Linked DNA regions of Homo sapiens: all the other regions are linked to region 3. Evidence: promoter capture Hi-C in human tissues and cell types (Jung and others, 2019). All regions are on one chromosome and are shown on one strand. The core of a region is centred on a gene start or on the middle of the fragment in contact, and the rest is flanking DNA. Distances in the headings are between cores, read along the strand shown. Region 1 overlaps PITPNB (phosphatidylinositol transfer protein beta). Region 2 overlaps PITPNB (phosphatidylinositol transfer protein beta). Region 3 holds the start of CRYBB1 (crystallin beta B1).

The links. The method cuts DNA at HindIII sites, captures the fragments that hold promoters and counts their contacts. A contact is called where the count stands out against the background at its distance.
Region 1: a contact is called between a fragment that was not itself captured here and the fragment with the promoter of CRYBB1 in region 3, in 1 of the 25 tissues and cell types used here (lymphoblastoid cells).
Region 2: a fragment that was not itself captured here is called in contact with the fragment with the promoter of CRYBB1 in region 3 in 1 of the 25 tissues and cell types used here (lymphoblastoid cells).

What each region holds. Positions count from the first base shown.
Region 1 is chr22:27,895,781-27,899,753 of GRCh38, forward strand. It overlaps PITPNB (phosphatidylinositol transfer protein beta), which reads right to left. Exons shown (of 12, transcript NM_012399.5): 4 at 2,021-2,112; 5 at 1,350-1,357; 6 at 772-846. Among named protein-coding and RNA genes, the nearest start is that of PITPNB, 21 kb to the right of the region's middle. RefSeq lists an enhancer at 147-196. The HindIII fragment of the contact is 4,356 bases long and covers 1-3,973 here.
Region 2 is chr22:27,870,301-27,874,530 of GRCh38, forward strand. PITPNB (phosphatidylinositol transfer protein beta) reads right to left here. Exons shown (of 12, transcript NM_012399.5): 8 at 3,438-3,515. Among named protein-coding and RNA genes, the nearest start is that of PITPNB, 47 kb to the right of the region's middle. The HindIII fragment of the contact is 6,796 bases long and covers 1-4,230 here.
Region 3 is chr22:26,615,461-26,619,623 of GRCh38, forward strand. It overlaps CRYBB1 (crystallin beta B1), which reads right to left and starts at 2,567. Exons shown (of 6, transcript NM_001887.4): 1 at 2,517-2,567; 2 at 680-878. The coding sequence starts at 859. It also overlaps a transcript of CRYBA4 not described here. RefSeq lists enhancers at 1,621-2,298, 2,977-3,652. The HindIII fragment of the contact is 18,434 bases long and covers 1-4,163 here.

The DNA.
Region 1 (3,973 bases), core at 616-3,115, 1.3 Mb after region 3:
CAGAAAACAGAAACTGCTGAGTCCCACCCCTAGAGATTCTGGTTCGGTAGTTCTTGGGTGAGGTCAGAGTATTTGCATTTCAAACAAGTCCTCAGATACTGTGCTGCTGCTGGCCCATCCAAAGACCACACTTTTGAGAACTCCTAGACCAAGGGCATCAACCTATACAACAGGACTTCCCAAGTTCCACGACAAACCTTACCAAAAGTTAATGATTACATTTTTTTAAGTCCTAACTCAAAGATGTTCTTGAATCTTAAAGAGATAAATGTGAACCAACTTATATAAGTCAACAGCTTTTCAACATTTTTGTAAGTTATTCAAGTACTTTATCCCTCCTGCCTTTTGGCCATTTCTCTAACATGAGCCCATACCCTTGCAAAGCAGACAAGAGGTAAAAATTAAAGCAATCAATCCTGCTATGCAGAGCAGCTCTGACAAACACTCAGATATAAAAGCAATCTAATTAGCAAAACTAATGGCTAAAATTGGGCTGGGGATTATCTGTGAATTTTGTTTATTCATGCTCTCCTTGTCTCGGATAAAGAGAGTTGCTGATCAAAACAGCAACTTTACCAAAGTGTCAAGGCAAGCGGACTGATAGGGAAAGCCTATTTGGTTTCTGGCTGCTTGCCCGCCTCATCTCAATTTGACACAGCTTGGTGCGGTCAGATACACAGGTGACATTACTTTGATGATGACAAAGTGAACTACATATAGAATTCTCGTTTCCAGGGACTTTTGTACTAAAAGTGCAGAGTTGAAACTTACATTTTCTAATGTTCCCAAGTCTGGTTTGTGCCATGTTTCGATTTTAATGAAGAAATCATCTTTCATATATTCATTCTGCAGAAAACACAACAGGAAAATGACAGTGATCTTCTACCTGTTCCTTGGTGCCCACGTCTGAGGGAGCTTTTCCCAGTATAGGCATCCATGCTTTGACTCTACAAGGAGACTGATACTCAAGTGACAAAGAATCATTGGCTACCGATTTTTATAGACTTGTCAGGCAAACCAAATGCTACATGCTTTTAAATAATTTAAACAATTCTACTTGCCACGTGGCATATCGGGCTAATAAAGAAGCTGTGAGGTCTGATAAACAAATATGGCGTTTGAAGGGAGTAACAAAAGCAAAATAAAATCAATAGGGAGATTTTGAGACAAGGGTGGAAAGGGCCCATGAACACTGGGAACATGTGGTAGAGTGTGGCGGCTGGTTGGTGGGACACAGGAAGGAACCATGCAGCGAGGTGCAGTTAGCAAAGAATGGTTGAAAATAATTACTGTGTAAAACAAAGTTTAAAGATAAAGAAAGTATGAGACACAAAAATAGTTTTACTCACCGTTACAACTGAGGCATAATGGAGAGGTAGGTAATGAAAGGAGAAAAATTTCAGAATATTAATTGGAGTCAAAACAATCTGTCCCAATACTTAATGTCACAAAGACTAAACTATCTGAAAACAGAACATTTATTTAGTAATTTATGTCTGCAAAACAGTTTCCACACAAGTGACACTATACAGTACATTAGATTATGGAGTACAAATAAAATATGAACAATAATCTAATTTTAAAAATAATGCTAAAAAGAATAATAATGTCACAAAAGCAAAACATTATTTATAAGGTCAATTTAGCAAATGATAGGATGCTGTTTCAGAAGTCTGTCCTATTCCTCCTCTATTATGTAGCAATTTAAGTAAAATACTGTTGAAACACACCAAAACACCCTTCTGAGTGTAAACGACCTTTCTTTTGGCTTACCCCTGGAGCCAGCATAGTCAGCTAGGACCCCAAAGTGGCTGCCATGTGGGAATGAACTTATGCCTGTCACAAAGTTCTAGGGGGAGGAACCCAATGCAGCCCTTCCTCTGCCATCATTCTAGCAGTGACTATCCAAGAACCCAAGGAAGACCTTGCTCAGTGTAAACCTTCTCAAAGACACTGGTACTGGGAATCCCTCTCATTCTCAGGGTGGAGGGGTGCAATGGCTGCTGGGGGCCAAGCTTACTTGTTCTACAGTAGGGGTACGCATTCCAGGCTTTCTCATGAAACACCAAGGAGCCCTCGGGAGCAATCATCCTCACGAATGCAGGCACTTTGCTGGGAGAAGAGAGATACTGGATATATTTAACAGCACCATCAATTCTTTCTTGGTATCTATCCAACTGCTTGAAAGAGTATGGCAATCAAAGGTGACCAGGTTCTAAGTCTGATGAACTAGTTTATTTCAATCCTAAAGTAATCCAGTAGAAATGAACACATAATTTTTTACATTTTAAATAAAAATGATTAAGAATATTTAGCTGGGTATGGTGGCTCATGCCTGTAATCCTAGCATTTTGAGAGGCTGAGGCAGGAGGATCACTTGAGCCCAGGAGTTTGAGACTAGCCTGGACAACATGGTGAAACCCTGTCTCTACAAAAAATATAAAACTAGCCAGGCATGGTGGCACATGCCTGTAGCCCCAACTATTCAGGAGGCTCAGGTGGGAGGATCACTTGAACCTGGGAGATAGAGGTTGCAGCAAGCTGAGATCACACCACTGCACTCTAGCCTGGGCAAAAGAGCAAGACCTTGTCTCACAAGGAAAAAAAAAATTAACTGTATAAAAGGTTTTGTGTGTGTGTGTGTGGTTTTTTTTTTTTTAAATAGAAGCAATTATTTCTTAAGAACTTCTGATCTACTACCCCAATGTAAAACCTAAGAGTTAACAGCTATTCAATCTGCACATTAATACAATGTAGTTCTTAAGAGTTAGATGACATTATACTGTTTCTTAATGCAAAAAGCCCCAGAATAAGGAGATATCTCTGAATAAAAGTCTGAATACATTTTATAGAACAGACCTGAAGAAAAATGACAATGTAAAGGACCCATGCAGAAAATGAGAAATTAAAGCATATCCAAGTATAAAATTTTGTAGGTATGGGAGATGAATGTCACTTGCTGCCTTAAGTATATTCAGAGGAAGAGAAAGGTTCAATACATGATTAATATATGAGAAGCTTGTGCAAGCATATGATAATCAGAAACAATCCCAACATATAAAGGGGCAAAAGTCATCCACAGGCCCATTACAAATAGAAAATGTTATTTGTTAACAAACAAATGGGAAAATCAGTCTTAACAGTCTTCAAATAAATGCAAATGAAGTGACTGATATAGTGACTGGAGCCTACTGTAAAGAGTAGTTTTGCTTGCACAGACTTTTCACACAGATCGAATTCAAATCCCAACATCACCATTTGGAAGCTGTGTGACCTTAGGCCTGCTACTTGGCTTCTCTGAAATTCCTCATGTGTTGAATGGAATTCCTATTACCTGCTCTGCAGGGTTATTAAGAGAATTAAATCAAATACTGGAATGTGTTTAGCACATTGCACAGTACAATGAGCTCAAAAAATGGTAGTTACTGCTTTTTAATTATAAGTTGATACGGAGCTGGGTATTTTCATATGCCTTTCTTCATTTAAATCTTCCTTAATGTCTTCACATCCTTAAAAATGAAAGGAGCTAATTCTTTGTTCACTTATTTCTTTTTTCTTTTTTGAGACGGAGTCTCACTCTGTTGCCCAGGCTGAAGTGCAGTGGCAGGATCTCGGCTCACTGCAAGCTCCACTTTGGGTTCACGCCATTCTCCTGCCTCAGGCTCCCGAATAGCTGGGGGTACAGGCGCCCGCCACTAGGCCCGGCTAATTTTTTTGTATTTTTAGTAGAGACAGGGTTTCACCGTGTTAGCCAGGGTGGTCTTCATCTCCTGACCTCGTGATCCGCCCGCCTTGGCCTCCCAAAGTGCTGGTATTACAGGCGTGAGCCACCGCGCCCGGCCTGATCACTTCTTTTCAAATGGTGGAACAATTCATTCAAACTTCAGAAACACCAAGCCAGGATAACTGAAAATAACATCACTTTAAAAGTCAAAGAGTATCTAGCTGTCCAAAAAATTTATCCCATTGCTAA
Region 2 (4,230 bases), core at 53-2,552, 1.3 Mb after region 3:
TCTTTACCCCTAGTCAGTCTGGTGCAGACAGGAAGTAAATACTGCAATAATTCAGAGGGAAAATACCACCATCAGACAAGTAAGGAAAAGTTTCAAAGAAATCATAGGATTTGCATTTAGCTTTGAATAGACTTTGGAATCTGTACTGGTAAGGCAGGTTTCTGCTGAAGGGTATGTGTGGGATGGTTCACAGAGGCCTTTTGAGAGAGAGACTGTGGAACTACCAGGCAGCTCTTCTATAAGAACATTCTTCAACACTACCCTGGTTAAGTGGGTCCACAATAAGATTTCTTCTTCCTTTCAGCCATAATTATCATGTTTGTTCCCTATTTCTTCCTTGCATTTCAGAAGTATAAAAATTTCCAACTATTATCGTTCCCCAGTGCTACCCTCAGTGCCTCCACCAGGACAGTAATTGGCAAAGAGGGCCTGCTGAACATGTTTACAGAAGACACTGGTAAGATCAAGTCCAAAGGTTCCTATTTTCCTGTATGCCATATTATCAGCTATCTTCTTACGCTTTATTTCCCTCCACAGCAGCAAGTGGATGGCTTAATTATTATCAGTTATTCTTGACTGCACTAGTTATTTCTGAGATCACAGTAATTCACAGAAATTCAGTCAGGCAGTAGCTGAATTTATAAGAGTAGCTGGATACACCATCATCTGGATAAAATGAACAATCAACAGGCAAATGGGCAGAAACAACCAGCACCCTATCAGCCTAATAAGTTACTGTTTAACACAGGGGGGAAAATGGAAAAAAACTGCAGTTCTGCAATCTGCAGAAATACAAAATTCACATTATTTCTAAGAACTAAACCTATTCTAGAATTTCAATCATTAGTCAATAATAAAAGACAAAGCAATATCAGTTACAAATCAGGCCAGACATGGTATATATTCCAAGTTCCTAAAAAGTTAGAAATCAGTACAAGTCATAGTATCAAACTACTTTTGCTGCCTGTTATAAAATCAGGAGTTCCTATAGGAAGGATCTGAGCCCAAACATAAAGCCCACCACATAATGTAGCATTGTCTTTTAATGTTTATACTTGAAAAGCTAATAATTTCAAGAAAATACAATATTTAATTCACCTCTGGGTCTCAACCTCATGCCCCTTTACTCCCTGTAAAAGTATTGTCAGCTAGAGCTACTACTCACTGGAACAAGATGTACTTTTTTAGAAGTTACAGCACCAGTGGAGGTAGCCACCATCTGGGCTGCTCTCTGGCATGGTGTCCTTGTTTAGAAGACCAGTGTGAAATCTCAAAGGGCTTCTCCTCCAACTAAGATTGAGTTCTAAAGTCTGAAGCTAGAAATCTGGAAAAGGCTGGGGACACTAAATCCATTAAAGCAAATTTACATCAAGCAGGCTGAATTTGTTAATTTATAAGTGGTATATATCACTTTCTGGGTAATATAGATTGGGAATTTGTCCCTGCTCAAATCTCATGCTGAAATGTAATCCCCAATGTTGAAATGCAATCCCTAATGTTAGAGGTAAAGCCTCTAACAGGTGTTTGCATCATGACTGCAGATCCTTCATGAATAGCTTGGGCCATCCCCTTGGTGATAAGTGAGCTCTCACTCTGAGTTCACACGAGATCTGGCTGTATAAAAGTGCATGGCACACTTCCCCTGCCCCACTTCCACCATGTGAGACGCCTGCTTCTCCTTTGCCTACCATGACTGTAAGCTTTCTGAAGCCTCCCCAAAAGCAGATACCAGCACTATGCTTCCTATACAGTGTGCAGAACCGTGAGCCAATTAAGCCTGGTTTTTTTTTTTTTTTTTTTTTTTTTTTTTTGGGACGGAGTCTCACTCTGTCGCCCAGGTTGGAGTGCAATGGTGCAATCTTAGCTCACTGCAACCTCTACCTCCCGGGTTCAAGTGATTCTCCTGCCTCAGCCTCCTGAGTAGCTGGGATTACACGCAAGCACCATCGTGCCCAGCTAATTTTTGGATTTTTAGTAGAGATGGGGTTTCAACATGTTGCCCAGGCTGGTATTGAACTCCTGACCTCAAGTGATCCACCCACCTCAGCCTCCCAAAGTACTGGGATTACAGGCGTGAGCCACTGCACCTGGCCCAAGCCTCTTTATATATAATACCCATTCTCAGGTTCTTTGTAATAATGCAAGATTGGCCTAACATGCTAAGTATTAAAACTGGGAGAATTCTGAACTAAACTCTACCCAGAGAACAAATGTGAAAATAATATAGTTATGAATCATTTCTTATAAACCAAAGTCAAATTCATTTTTCCTTTTAGTTGATGCACAAGACAGTCCACAAAACAGTCTAACACCCAGGGAGAACCACTCAATGAGTTCTCTGTGGGGCTGTAACAGTAATCCTCTTATCTGCATGCAACTAGTACCTAGACATCACTTATCGATGACCTGTAACTGGCTTCAGCACAGACAGACTGGTTACCAAGTAAGACCCTGGGAGTGGAAAATCTGCTCTGGGCATGTTTAAGTTTTTATGCTCTTCTCTTGTCAAATTAGCTGTAGTAACTTGCCAATAACACATTAAGACTTCTTTAAGGATCTGTCATTTAGTTTAGTAGATGTCTTTAAAATGCATTATATTTCTATAGCAATTTAAATTATTACCTTGACATTACCTTACTTCCATGAATAAAGTAAGGGTGTGCACTTTATTTAAAAACAACTACTGGCTGGGCGCAGTGGCTCATGCCTGTAATCCCAACACTTTGGGAGGCCAGGGCGGGTGGATCACCTGAGGTCGGGAGTTCGAGACCAGCCTGACCAACATGGAGAAACCCCGTCTCCACTAAAAATACAAAATTAGCCAGGCATGGTGGCGCATGCCTGTAATCCCAGTTACCCGGGAGGCTGAGGCAGGACAATCACTTCAACCCAGGAGGCAGAGGCTGCAGTGAGCCCAGATTGCACCACTGCACCCCAGCCTGGGCAACAAGAGTGAAACTCTGTCTCAAAAACAAAACAAAAACAAAAACTGCTTGCCACAAAAATTGCTCACTCGTGTCCTGCTTTCCAAAAATATAACTATTAAAAGTCCAGGAATATGAGCTTGGGTGAAGGGAGCTTGTTCAGTTTTTAATAAGACTAAATTTAAACTATAAACCTTCATTTAAAATGGATTTTTATACTGCTTCAGGTCTCAAAAGAGAACATTAGAATCCCCAAAGACTAAATCACTTGTCTCTTTTAAGAGTTATTGGAGCTGCATTATGCTGAAAGTGACAGTCTGGCTCTGTTCTGTTTGTTAATGCAGCACAGATTTGCTGGCCAACTGCAACTGGCTGTAAGTCCTTATCGCAAATAAAACTATTTTTGTGCCATTTCTATTTTTCACTTAAACGTCACCAGCTCTTCAAGACTCAGGACCTGTCAAGTGTTCTGTTGCCAAGACTCTGCCTGTCAGAAAGGTCAGCATCCAGTACCTTCCAGTTGGGTCCCAAAGGGCCTCTCTTGGTCTTGACTGACTGGAATAATGCTGGGTCTTCATCAGCTTTGTAGTCCTGCAAAGCAAAACAAAGTCAGAGGCAGAGAAGAAAACCAGAGAATATTCTTTAACCGTGCCAGAATAGCTCTTCGCAGCTACCAAAACACAGGACAGAAATCAATTAGACTCACTGTGCTTTTGCGTAAAAGTAGAAAAATGCTTCTTTAAGACACTGTTTTCAGTTTGGTTTCCTTTGCTTTAAACTTTTACCTTGGGCTAAATAACTACATAATAAGAAATAATAAAAGTCCTGGACTAGCAATCCATTCTGACTGGTTACTGGACAGCTGTCTCCAATAACAAATCTTTCAACAGTTTTTTAAATAATTTAAGCATTTTGATATATGGATAATCACATTCAAAGAATAAAACATACCCATCCCAGTTTTGACACTACAGGTAGATGATGACACTGGACTGTTAATGCTGGCCAGAGCAACTACTGTGGCTGGGAACAAAATCAGAACTATCGATTCTGCAGCACCCCCAACCTCTTCCTACAGCTGGGTCTGTGGTGGACATCTCAGTTTCTTGACTGGCTTCTCCAAACCCTTGTTCGAGAGCCCTGGGATACACATGGCTTGTCTTCCTCATAGAAGGACTGCACTCACGTCATCCCCTCACTGTCAAAGGAGGCGAAGGAGGGGTGTCACGGGACTGCCTCAGTTATATACCACAGGGGAAAGGCTCTAAAATGAAGGTTTTATTCAGGGTTCTAGTGTGTGTAAATT
Region 3 (4,163 bases), core at 1,317-3,816:
TGGTTTGGTTGTTGTTATTGCACAACTCAACTATAGGTCCCCTTTTTCTTTCTATTCTTTTCTTTTTTTTTTTGATGGAGTCTCCCTCTGTTGCCCAGGCTGGAGTGCAGTGGCATGATCTCAGCTCACTGCAACCTCCGCCTCCTGGGTTCAAGTGATTCTCCTGCCTCAGCCTCCCAAGTAGCTGGGATTACAGGCGCCCACCACTACGCCTGGCTAATTTTTGTATTTTTAGTAGAGACAGGGTTTCACCATGTTGGCCAGGCTGGTCTCGAACTCCTGACCTCAGGTGATCCACCTGCCTCGGCCTCCCAAAGTGCTGGGATTACAGGCATGAGCCACTGCGCCCGGCCCCACTTTCTCCAAGTGTGTCAGAACCCCTGGCTATTTTATGGGCTCCCAGATTGGCTGGGCCACACTTGTGTCCCAGAAGGAGGAGGGAGGAGGAGGCCAAGGTGAGGGAAAAAGAGAATAGGGACAGAGGATAAGAGTCTGGGGAGGTGGAGAAGAAGAAAAGGGAGAGTAAATAGAAAGGAGAGAAAATAAGCCAAGAAAAAGGAGGAGAAAGAGGTGCGGAGGAGTAAGAGGTGAAAGAGGAAGAGGAGGAGGAGAAGAAGGAGGAGGAGGGAAGGAAGGAAAGAAGGCATGGCACCCAGCCACTGCACCCCCAGGTCCTTACCCTGTAGTTCCCAGGAGGCAGTTCCGCCGCCTTGGCGCTGGTAATAGGCACGGTTGTTGGGGCCAGGGTAGTGCCGGGACTAGGGGATGTTCCTGCAGGTGGGGCCCCCTTCCCCTTGGTGTCAGGCCCTGGGTTCACCGCCACTGTGGCCGAGGCCGAGGCCTTTGCAGCCTGAGACATGGTTCCCGCCTGCAAAAGTCTGTAAAGAAACTCTGGCCTTCAGGGATGACACCCCCAAACTGCCTCCTGCCCTCATAGCCCCACATCCTGTGCTTTCAGCCTCCTTGGAGCTCGTTTCCTCTCTATCTCCTTCTGAAACGGTTAAGCCTGGAAGTTTTTCTTTCATCCCTACTTCCCAGCCAAGACCTTCCCGTCTGGGGGCCACTCATCCCACATATATCCTTCCTCCAGGCTTTTGACCATGCGGTTCCCTCCACTAGCTGTTCCACCCTCCATTACCCCGCTAGGTCCTTCCTTAGCCCCCTGCAATTTTCCACACTGCTTATCACACTGATTTGCTTGTGCAACTCCAATTTGCCTCCCTAGACTAATAACAAGAAGTCCCATTTGGGAGTACTTAAGGTGTGCCAGGCACTGTGACATACATTAATTAACCCATCTGACCATGAACCTCACCCGATGGAGTAGCTGCTATCATGATCCCCTCTGAGCAGCAGGGGGCTGGAGAAGGAAGGGGCCCAGCTCAGGCCCAAACAGCTACTAAGTGGTAGGGCTCTGATTTCAACTCAAGGAAATGGAGCCAGCAACTGGGCTTTTAAAGTATTCTGCCATTTGCTTAATCTGATTTATTCACCGTCCATCCCTAACACTTGCTCTGCACCTGGCACATAGGAGATGCCCAATTAACATTTGTTCAGAGAATGAATGAATGCATGCTCCCAGCTCCTTTCCCCGTCTGCTTCCTCTGAGGGGTTGGTGTATGGGTGCAAATACAGGCCGGGGACTGAGGCTTATGGGAGGACCCAAGAGGATGTATTTACTGCATGTGGAGGGTTCTGAAAATGAGGACTGGGGCTGGGTAGGCTTTGGGTGGAGAGGGCTTTGGTCAATTCCAGTGGTTCCTTGTTGCTTTGGGGTCGTGGACTCCTTTGAATGTTTGATGAATACCTCAACTTTGTCCCCGGACAAAAATAATGCTCTCTTTAACTTTGGAGACAATGTTAAGGGATTTGAGGACCCCCTGCTAGCACAGATTAAGACCCTCTGGTCAAGCTGATTCCCGAACACATTCTGTAAGGCGGAGCTAGTTGGGATAAGCACATCCCTCCCCCAGCCTCCTCCAGGAAGGCTGTGCATATTCTGGGGTGCCCCCTGTTCACCAGGGGTGAGGCCAGACATCTGGACCACATCTGTGGCTTTAAACACTCCCCCAGGGCTGGCAGCTGGACTCATGCCTTCCTGGAGATATTCTCATTCTCTCTCTCTCCCTGCTTCACCCTCTCCCTCTGTTCCTCCTCTCTTCCCTGTCTTTGCCTCTCTATCTGTTTCTTACTTCTCTCCCTCTTTCTGCCTATCTGCCTGTCTGTTTCTCTCCCTCTCTGTTCCTCTCTCCCCCACTATCTCTCCCTCATTGTATCTTTGCTTATCTCTCTATCTGTCCTTTTTAATTATATTTACTTCTCTCTCTATTTCTGTCTTTTCTCACTCTCTCCCCTCTCCCTCTCCCTCCCTTTCTTCCTCTCTCCACTTCCGTCTTTATCTCCATGGCCCTGCTCTCTGACTCTCATGGCACTGCTATCTCTGCCTCCCTCTCTCTGTCTCCCTTTTCTCTTCCCCTCCCCTTCAGCTCTCAGCTGGGCTGTGGGTTCCCTCTTACCTGGGGACTTGCTACTTCCTGCTGGAGGACAGGCAGGCGGGCAGGTGCTATGGGTGACTAGAGTCCGACCCCCCATTTTATAGTCTGGCAGACATCAGGCCCTATAGTCTGTGGCACAAAGGGGAAGCTGGCTCAGCAGGCCTGGGCAGGGAGTGGGGGACTGGGGCCCTGACCTCGCCTGGATCACTGCAGACAGCAGCACTTTCCTTTGTGAGACCAGCACACACAGCAGAAACCCTGGCCACAGCAGCTTCACCTTCCAACCCTACCCTGACTCCTTTCTCAACAACCCCAGCCAGGGATGGGCCCCCAAAAGGGTCCCTGCTGGCTGCCAACATGGGGCAGGGAAAAGGGGAGACCCTGGGAGGCAGGAGACCAGAGTTTGAATCCTGACTCAGCCACTGCGCGCTGTGTGGCTTTTGGTAGGTCTCTACCCCTAGGGGGGCCTCTGTGTCTGCAATTATAAGGTGGGCACGTGTCCCTGTTGGATGCCATATAGAAAAGAAGGTGACAATGAGCACAGAAGCGTTTTGTAAAGGCAGATGTGGGTTTGATATGGACAGCCTTTTTTACGGAGTGCTTACTGTGTGCCGAACCCGTGTTATCTCGGTCAGTCCCCGGGACAATCTGCCTTATTTGGTACTTTCATTATGCCCATTTCACAGAAGAGGAAAGTGAAGGCACAGAGAGGTCAGAGCCAGCCCAGGCCAGCCAGCTCTGGGCCTGTGTGCTTTCTTCTCCTGCTGTCCAGCCTTGACCTTGGCCTGAGGCCCCCTGGCCTGACTTCCTCTTTGTAGGTTGGGGTGGGAATGGGAGAGTCGCACTGTGCTCAGCTGGGTTGGATATCGGAGACCTGGGTCTTTTTCTTTTCCCCACATTGGGCCCCATCCTTTCCTGACCTATCGACAGTGATCCCTCTCGCCACCCCAGTTCCCCGCCTCTACCCAGGCCACGTTATCTGACCTGGAGGACAGTGCTGGTGGCCAGAAATATGACTGCCTGTCCCAGAGCCTCCTGCCCTGGCAAGCCCCAGATGCCCACCACATCTTGTTCACCACTGGCCCCAGCACCTAGCTGGGCCTGGCTAGGTAGAGCTTGGCACATCATGGGTTCTCAGTCAATAACTGGTGACTCAATGGTGGTTCCAATGGATCGGAACAGAAGGTAGGGTACGGAGGAGATAGGGAAACCAAGGCAAGGAGAGAGAAGTAAGGAGGCAGATAGAAGTAACAGACAAAGAGAGAGGTGGAGACAGAGACACAGAGAGGCACAGGGGACATGGACAGTGAAGGAGCGAGAGACGGAGAGACAGAGGTCAAGTTGGGGTGATCAAGCCTCAGGACGGAGGAACAGACGCCAGAAATCACAGGGCCCAATCCTCCCATTTCACAAATGGAGAAACCGAGGCCCAGGTGGAACAAATGACTTCAACATAGTCACATGGCGGGAACTCACAGTACAGCTGGGGTCAGAAGGAGCCTGGGGAGCTGCTCAGCTAGGTCACCTGCAGTCGGCTCCCCAGTCCCAGGCAGGGTATATTGCGGGGGCATCTGGATAGGCTCCTGTCTCTTCTTTTTCGGGGTTCTAGGCTCCCCGTGGAGCCCAGCTCTGTCTTGAACTCTCCCTGGCCTGGAGCCAGCTTTGCCT